Regions from separate parts of the Homo sapiens genome. Here region 2 is linked to region 1. The links are contacts of gene promoters, found by promoter capture Hi-C in human tissues and cell types (Jung and others, 2019). All regions are on one chromosome and are shown on one strand. The core of a region is centred on a gene start or on the middle of the fragment in contact, and the rest is flanking DNA. Distances in the headings are between cores, read along the strand shown. Region 1 holds the start of GBP1 (guanylate binding protein 1). Region 2 has its middle 69 kb from the start of LRRC8B.

Region 1 (4,376 bases), core at 1,097-3,596:
GGAATAATTAATGAATTGATTCTTATCCCCTAGAACAGCGTGAAGATAAGGAGCCCGACTGTGAATGGAAAGTTAGCTTTCAGTATTCATCCTCATCTCTTTCTCTCCTCACATCTTCATAATGGAGGCTGACTGTGTAGATGGACAGAAGGGACTTGGCAGAGCTTTGCTCATGCCACTCACCCTTTTTCTTTCCAGCCAGCTTGTTCATCAGGTAGGATTTGCCTGTGCGGTAGAGGCCCACAATTGCCACCACCACCATAGGCTGTGTAATGGCAGAAAGGATCTTCAGAGCTTCTGGATTCGCCATCAGTCGCCCATTAGTGTTCTCAATGAGGCACATTGGGCCTGTCATGTGGATCTCTGATGCCATGTCCAGGCTGTTCCCTTGTCTGCAAGAGAAGAGGTGAAATACATGAGAATTTCTAGTGTTTTGCAATTATAAGGGAGAATCATAAGATTCCCCAGTATGGCCAAAAGTTTTGTGTGTGACAGCAAAAGAGATGAGGCAAAATCTGTATCATTTGAGAAAGTTATGGAAGTATTGTCAAAGTAGCTCATTATGAAAAATGTTAGCATGACAGTGACTTATCAACACTCAACTACTCTCACGACCCAAATATTTCATTTAGTTTATTGTGGAAAACTTTCTTTTTGGATTCTTATTAGATATTTTCACTAGTCAATTAATGGAAGATAGAATAGGATTTAGAGGATTTATTTGCATCCTGGCTGTATGTAAGGAATTCAATATTGATTCACTTATTAATTCTCACAGTGAATAAACATCCAACACAGTGAATCAGTATTCATAGTTTGATGTTTACCCTTAGAAAAATTTCCAAAGATTTTTAAATGTGTTCCTTCCTCCATCTTCAAATGATTATGCTTATTTCACTGCAATGAGGATTGACAAAGCTTCTCACATTGCCATTCTGGAAGTGGTAACAATGTAACATACTTTTGCAAATTTTATAAAACTATACAACCATGTGAAACACATGGCTAGGGAACCTTCCAAGGGCTCCTAAGGGTCATGTCCAAGAGAAGGGCCCTGAAACTTAAGCTTCATTAGAGTCACGATAAGATAGCTTCTAAGTCACTGAGGGTATGAATGCAAAATTGCAAATACTGAATGTTTCCTCCAGATAATAAGGATTAAAAGATCAAGAGGCAGATAAAGAGAGCTACCTAGGAAGTTGTTCAAATAAAATATATTTCCAGCGATACAGCTTTAGGATTTCTGTTTTGTTCTGTTTTCCATTTGGTAGGGTAGGAGAAAGAGAAATAGAAAGAGGAGGAATAGTAGGAGTGGAGAGGAGGATAAGGGGCTGGGAATGTGTGTGTGTGTGTGTGTGTGTGTGTGTGTGTGTGTGTGTGAGAGAGAGAGAGAGAGAGAGAGAGAGAGAGAGAGGAGCTGTCAGACCAGAGGTGATGAATGAGGCTAGTGTCTTGACAAGGCATTCAGGGGAAGACTTTGCAGAAGGCAGGATCAAAGTAGTCTGAGTGCATGGAGAGGTTAAAGTAAGCAAAGATATTTTCTGTAGAGATGCATTACAGGAGAATTAAAGAGGAAACACTTTTGGCCCTGCTCTCTACTAAAAGAAGACAAAATTGGAAGCACTTCAGTGAAGCAGTGGGGTTGAATTTCACTTCTAAGGGACAGGGATCAGTGGGCACTAGGAAATTAGTGAGTCTGGACTATTTCTAAAGAAAGTAATCCATTCTGAAACAAAGTTCACAAGTGTAATAAAAAGTATACTGTTTTCATGAATCTTCATCTTTCAGGCTGAGTTTCAGTTTTTTCTTTGTCTTTAACCGTGTCAGTGGGCTGCTTACTCTGCTTCTCATTTGCTGTTCTTTCCTTCCATGAAAAGAACCCGTTTGTAACTCTTCCATTTCTTAGCTGCATAGAAGCAGGATTCAGTCCATCACTGACGATGGAAATGTAATCATATCCCTAGTCAACATAGATAATGTCAACAAAGAGAAAGACTATCCTAGTACATTTCAAATGCTCAGTTTAGCCCCTGTCTACTGGTGCCTAATTCAACACAAGCACTGTAGTGGCACTTAAGGCCATGCTGTCCCTGATAACACCAGGATTTCATCTGACCTGCGTCCCACTTCAGGCTCATCTGCAGCCTAATTTGGTTCTGATGATGTTTAAGAAAATGAACTGACCTTTATAAATTCCTTCCCATCCCTGCCACAACCTTATAGGTTCCATATCACTGAGCTGAGATCCTTTGGAGCTAGAGAGAAAGCTGCTTGATGAGAAGTAGTAAAAGTTCTTACCTGTTCTTTTTCTCCTTAGTTCACGAGCACTGGCTTCTAGCACTTCTGTGTCTCTCACTGGATCCCTGGACTAATATTTCACTGTTCCGAAGTTGTAGGGCTGGGATTTCCTCATTGATGAAATATTTAGAAGCTAAGCAGATTTGTAATGGATTTAGAGTAATATGAAACTGAAAGTACTTCGTTCAAATCACTGACTCCACTACCATAAATGGAATTAGTGGAGTGTGCCAGTGGGAGGGTTTAAAGATTTCTCAACCAGAAGCTTCAAATTTTTTTTGTTGTTGTTGGAAATCTTAGAGACCATTTGTTGTCTAACAAAATGCCCATTAGGTTTTGAATACAATGATACATGTCTCATGGATTGAGTCAATTTGAGAAACCTAGAATGAGGAGGCATCATGTTAATTTTCAGCTACAATTTCCTAAAATAATAGACACACTCTCAATGGAGCTGCCTATTCTTTGAGAGGTGCAGTACATAAGGAAAGGACATGTTTAACACACTCATGAACACCTAACCCCTGGCACTTAATGCCCAGCACACAGCCAGGAGGGGGCTCCATGTGTTGTACTCATGTTCTAGGCTCAGTACTGATGGCTTTACATGAATCGCACAACTGAAAACTCATAATATTTCCTCATGGTTTTATAGAAACTGAGCACAGAAAGACTTTATTAGTTGTCTAAAATCATAACACTGTAACTAATCTGAACCCAAGCACTCATGATCCCATACCCTCTTCTTGAACCACTTCACTATGCTGCTTATTTACTAAGTGAAAAATTGTAGAAATATTTTATTTATAGGTTTTTTATTTTTAAATTTATTATAGTGTGATTTTATTTTTATAGATTGTTTTCTAAGAGCTGTTTGTGTTTTATGTCTAATTCAGTAATGACTTCTAGCATACAGAATAAGTGGCATTATCTCTATTTTACAGCAAAAGCAAATAAAATAGTAAAAAGCCTGAGTGAACATTTCATTTAAAAATATATTTATAGTGATGTGGTTTCACTTTGTTGCTTAGGTTGGTCTTGAACTCCTTCCTTCAAATGATCCCCCTGCCTCGGCCTCCCAAATTGCTGGGATTATAGGCATGAGCCACCAGACCCAACCTTGTGTGAGCATTTCTTTTTTTTTCTTTTTCTTTTTCTTTTTTTTTTTTTTTTTTTTTGAGATGGAGTTTCACTCTTGTTGCCCAGGCTGGAGTGCAGTGGCACGATCTCGGCTCACTGCAACCTCCGCCTCCTGGGTTCAATCAATTCTCCTGCCTCAGCCTCCCAAGTAGCTGGGACTACAGGCATGTACCACTATCCTGGCTAATTTTGTATTTTTAGTAGAGATGGGGTTTCTCCATGGTGGTCAGGCTGGTCTCGAACTCCCGACCTCAGATGATCCACCCACCTTGGCCTCCCAAAGTGCTGGGATTACAAGTGTGAGCCACCAGGCCTGGCCAAGCATTTCTCACTTACACATTAAAATTATATATTAGATGTATATAAATTGCAGATACAGTGTCTTTTCTCATTCATACTTTGTAAAATAATTTTATCTAAACTCTTTCTATCATCCTTCCTTAACACTGTAGCTCCTTTATTATTAAAACTACTTTAAAGTCTTTTACTTTTTAGAGCATAACATTCTTACATCTGTCAAAATTATTTGAACCATTTAAAATCTCTGCAGATTGTCCTGGAAGTGTAGGGGTGGGTTGCCCCTCCACACCTGTGGGTGTTTCTCGTAAGGTGGAACGAGAGACTTAGGAAAGAAAAAGACACAGAGACAAAGTAGAGAGAAAGAAATAAGGGGAGCCGGGGAACCAGCGTTCAGCATATGGAGGATCCCGCCAGCCTCTGAGTTCCCTTAGTATTTATTGATCATTCGTGGGTGTTTCTCCGAGAGGGGGATGTGTCAGGGTCACAAGACAATTGTGGGGAGAGGGTCAGCAGACAAACACGTGAACAAAGGTCTTTGCATCATAGACAAGGTAAAGGATTAAGTGCTGTGCTTTTAGATACGCATACACATAAACATCTCAATGCTTTACAAAGCAGTATTGCTGCCCGCATGTCCC
Region 2 (4,376 bases), core at 1,159-3,658, 390 kb after region 1:
TGTATGTGTGTGTTTTATGGATATATATATACATATATATATATATATACACATAAAATATGATCTTTCATAAGTAGAGAAGAGAAGTCAATGCCTGGCTTCAAAGCTTCAAGGGACAAGTGAACTCTCTTGTTAAGAGCTAATTATATATAACATACCAATATATAAATATGAATGTATATACTCATATATATGTCTAGTTCAGCAGGTAATCATTTTACAACAAAATAATTAAAAAATAAAGACAAGTAAAGATAAAAATGACTAATCCTTAATTGCATATCTAGAGAGGCTCATCCTTAACATTTTGCTCAAACTCTTGCACTTTTTTCATGAAAGGCTAAATAAGCCAAGCATGTTATCATGCACCAGGAGTAATAGCTACTCTAGAGGCTGAGGCAGGAAGATCGCTTGAGGCCATCCACTACACTCCAGATGTAGGCAACTCCATCTCTGAAAAAATTTAAAAGCCAAATAGTAATATTTTAGGATTTGCATACCATAAGTCTCTGTCAAATCTATTCTTCCAGAGCAACCATAGACAATATGTAACAAATGAGTGTGGCTGTGTTCCAATAAAACTTTATTTACAAAAGTAGGCAGTGGGATAAATTTGGCCCATCTCTTGTTTGCTGACCCCTGGATTAGGTAAAGTTAATGGAACAATATGCAAGGGATTATTACCAGCCCAGGTATCTTACAAGTTAGTGGATCAGTTCCAGGCTCTCAGTCTAAGTGTCTACTTCTAAGGTGATTTGGATCAAACAACATATAAAAATTCTCATCGGAGCAGAGATACCAACAAAAAATGTGTTTACTCTGTCTATCTGACTATCAGTCAAGTGAATTTCTGCCTGGATTCCTGAGCAATGAATTGACATGTCTGCTCAATTAATTGTCTAACTCCCAACAGCATAGTGCTGCCCACAGCTCCTACATAAGCCACAGAGTAATACGTGGTGATGGAACAAAATCAGTAGTAAAGAGGAAGAACCTGGTCTGGCTAGGGGGACACCTGCCCAGGTCTGCAGGCCCCTGTGAGTGAGCAAGAAAGCCTAACATTTGGATGTATGTCATGATGACTCCGGCTAGTCCTAGCGGGGTGGACAATGAAGTTATAAATACAGATTTTGCAGAGATATTTCTGCTTGCATTTGCTAGATACGGCCTGTTCACCTCAAACACAGATTAAGGAACAGCAGTGTTATCATGGATGTATCATGCCTACACTGAAGAGATAAGCGCTTGCAGGCACTGCCATCATGTGGCTATGTTTGGTAATTTATTTGGTAATATACGAATGAATTTTCCTGTGGAAAGTGATATCAATATAGAATATATAGATATCAGTATAGAATTTATGGAAATTTATTGATGGCAATATAGAGTTTATAGAAATTCATAATAAATTATAAATTATGGTGAAATCAAATTTATTTTTCAAATATTTGAAATAAATTTTATATATAAAGTTTACTATATTAATATTTATTGTAAATATAAACTTTATATATGTATTATTTATTAAATATTGATTAAATGTGTTATAATGGTATTAATATAAATATTTATTATAAAATGAATTTTGGTAATATATTAATTATAAAATAAATAATAAACATATATTTGAAATATAAAATTCACAATAAAATTTGTTATAATAAAGTTGAAATCCAGCTACATAAATAAATCAAATTCATACATTGATAACACTGTATGCATTTTCTAATGTAAACATGACTATGATGGAGGTTTTTTAAAGGTTAATTGAAATGATGAAAGAAATGGTAAGGTCTTAGGTTCCCATGGGGATAATGTGTTTTTATTTGGTTTCTCTCTCCAACAAGGAAAGACTTGGATGTGTATAGTTTATTTGGGAAATGGTGACAGGAAGCCAGGGAAAGGGAGAGTAACACACGGACAAAGCTAAAAAGGCGAATTAATGAGTTGGTTACTATTGTGAGCAACTGGAGATCAATCCCAAAGTGGATATTCTGAAGAATTATATAGAGTGCATTTCATAATTGTCTCTTTGAGGGACAATGTGGAGTATTTATTTAACAACCCAGTTTCCATTGGTTGAGAGTTCCCCTCAGGGACTTTAGCTCCTCTGAATTTATAAGCTGTGCTTGGGCAAAAGAGGCAGCCTTACATAGCCTGAACAAAAACCTGAGTAAGTAAAGGAGAAAGACTCTCAACAGAGGACATAGCAGCTGCTGGAACTGTCTGCTATGGCCGCACTGCTAAATGGATTTGAGAATAGAAGCAAGTGGCAGAATGAGCAGATACGAGTTTTGGCAATAACTTAGGCTGAGGATTTGGGGAGTGTGGTAGACTAATCTGAATAATCTATGCAGACAAAGATTTGTGCTGAAAAAAAGGTAAAATTTTGGATTTAAAAATGTTTAATATTTTTAAAAGCAGTATTAAAAATGGACTAATTTGTCATGAATGATCTTAAAGACCAAATTCCAAGGGAAGGTGGGAGACCAAAGAGTTAAGTGGAGTTATTGAAGCTGTTTTTTTCCTAATAGCATTTGCCAACAAAGGGAATGAACTTTCAGGGATTTTTGTTTGTTTTGCTTTTTATTTTATTTATTTTTATTATACTTTAAGTTCTGAGATACATGTGCAGAATGTGCAGGTTTGTTACATAGGTATACATGTGCCATGGTGGCAACCTTCAGTTTTGAAGGCATTTATGAAGTAAGCAGACAGAGGTCAAAGACCAGAGCTTGTCTAAAGTAAAGAGTCTAGTAGGAGGCCTCCTTTAGAAGTCAAAAGACTAAATAAGTAATTCTTAATACTTGCTGCACTTAATCATCAACTGGGGTTCTCCTTAAAAATCCTTACACTCGAGCTCTGACCCATCACCAGAGACTGATTTAGTAAGTCTAGAGTTGAGGCTGAGTGTGAGTGTTTTAAAGCCTCGCTCCACCTCCAGGTGGTTCCAGTTACAGTCAAGGATGCTATTCAGAGCAACTGTGAACTAGAACTAGCAGGGCAAGCAGGTTTAGGATTGGCTAGCTGGAATAATTTCAGTGGGCTCTGAAGCAGAGGAATTGTTCTTACTTTCTGGTATTTGGCCTTTGGGTGAGTAGGGCAGATGGGTAGTGACCCAGAGTGTGAGAGCCAACAGAGAAAGTGGTGGCGTGTGGGCTTCAGGTTGGTTAGTTTGCATATGAAAGGCACACTTGCAGGAGAATCCCTTAGTATCTCTAAAAACTGCCTAGCCCTGGGAGGATCAGTCTCTCCAGGATCAGCAAAGCCCCAAGATGTCTAAAGCTTTAAATAGGGAAACTAGAAAATGTGTTAATTATGGGGTTGCATATCTTGGATGGTCCATGAAGTCAAGCCAAGAGCTTAGCACAAAACACCCAGAATAGTCAAAGTGACCTGAGAACGAAGAACAAAGCTGGAGGCATCACACTTCCTGATTTGAAAATGTAATACAAATTTACAGTAATTAAGACAGTATGGAACTGGCATAAAGACAGACATATAGACCAATGAAACAGAATAGAGAGCCCAATAAAACAGAATAGAGAACCCAGAAATAAAATATTTGGAAAATATATTGAAAAGGCACTCAATATCACTAATAATCAGAGAAATGCAAATCAAAACCACAGTGACACATCACTGCACACCTGTTAGGATGGCTACTATTTAAAAAAAAAAGGCCAGGCACAGTGGCTCATGCCTGTAATCCTAGCTCCTGGAGAGGCCGAGGTGGACAGATCTCTTGAGCCCAGGAGTTCAAGACCAGCCTGCATAACATGGCAAAACCCTATCTCTACTAAAAATACAAAAATTAACTGGGTGTGGTGGTTTGCACCTATAGTCCCACCTGCTCAGGAGGATGAGGTTGGAGGATCACCTGAGTCTGGGGAGATCAAGGCTGTGGTGAGCCCAGATCATGCCACTGCACTCCAGCCTGGGTGACAGAGTAAGACCCCATCAAAAAAAAAAAAAGAAACTTTAAAAAATAATGGTGTTGATAATGATTGTAGAAATTGGAACCCTTGTACACTGTTGATTAGAATGTACAAGGGTGTGGCTACTATGCAAAACACTATGAAGGTTCCTCAAAAAATTAAAAATATTACTACCACACGATCCAGCAATATCACCTCTAGGTATACATTCAGAAGAAGAAAAACCAGGACCCTGGAGAGATAGCTGCACTCCCAAGTTCATTATTCACAATAATCATTCACAATAGTCAAGATATGGAAATAACACAAATATCCAAAAATGGATAAAAATGTGTGTGAATATTATTTAGCTTTTAAAAAGAATGTTCTGTCATCTGAAACAATAGGGATAAACCTGAAGACATTATGCTAAACAAATAAAGCCAGTTACAGACGACA

What was found. Contacts are between HindIII fragments. The study calls those that stand out against the background at their distance.
Region 2: a contact is called between a fragment that was not itself captured here and the fragment with the promoter of GBP1 in region 1, in 2 of the 25 tissues and cell types used here (H1 embryonic stem cells and stomach).

Annotation. Positions count from the first base shown.
Region 1 is chr1:89,062,862-89,067,237 of GRCh38, forward strand. GBP1 (guanylate binding protein 1) reads right to left here and starts at 2,347. Exons shown (of 11, transcript NM_002053.3): 1 at 2,299-2,347; 2 at 184-392. The coding sequence starts at 373. The region is part of intron 2 of LOC105378841 (a long non-coding RNA gene); the gene reads left to right. RefSeq lists an enhancer at 2,544-2,643. The HindIII fragment of the contact is 6,241 bases long and covers 1-4,333 here.
Region 2 is chr1:89,454,098-89,458,473 of GRCh38, forward strand. No RefSeq gene overlaps it. Among named protein-coding and RNA genes, the nearest start is that of LRRC8B, 69 kb to the right of the region's middle. The HindIII fragment of the contact is 4,815 bases long and covers 2-4,376 here.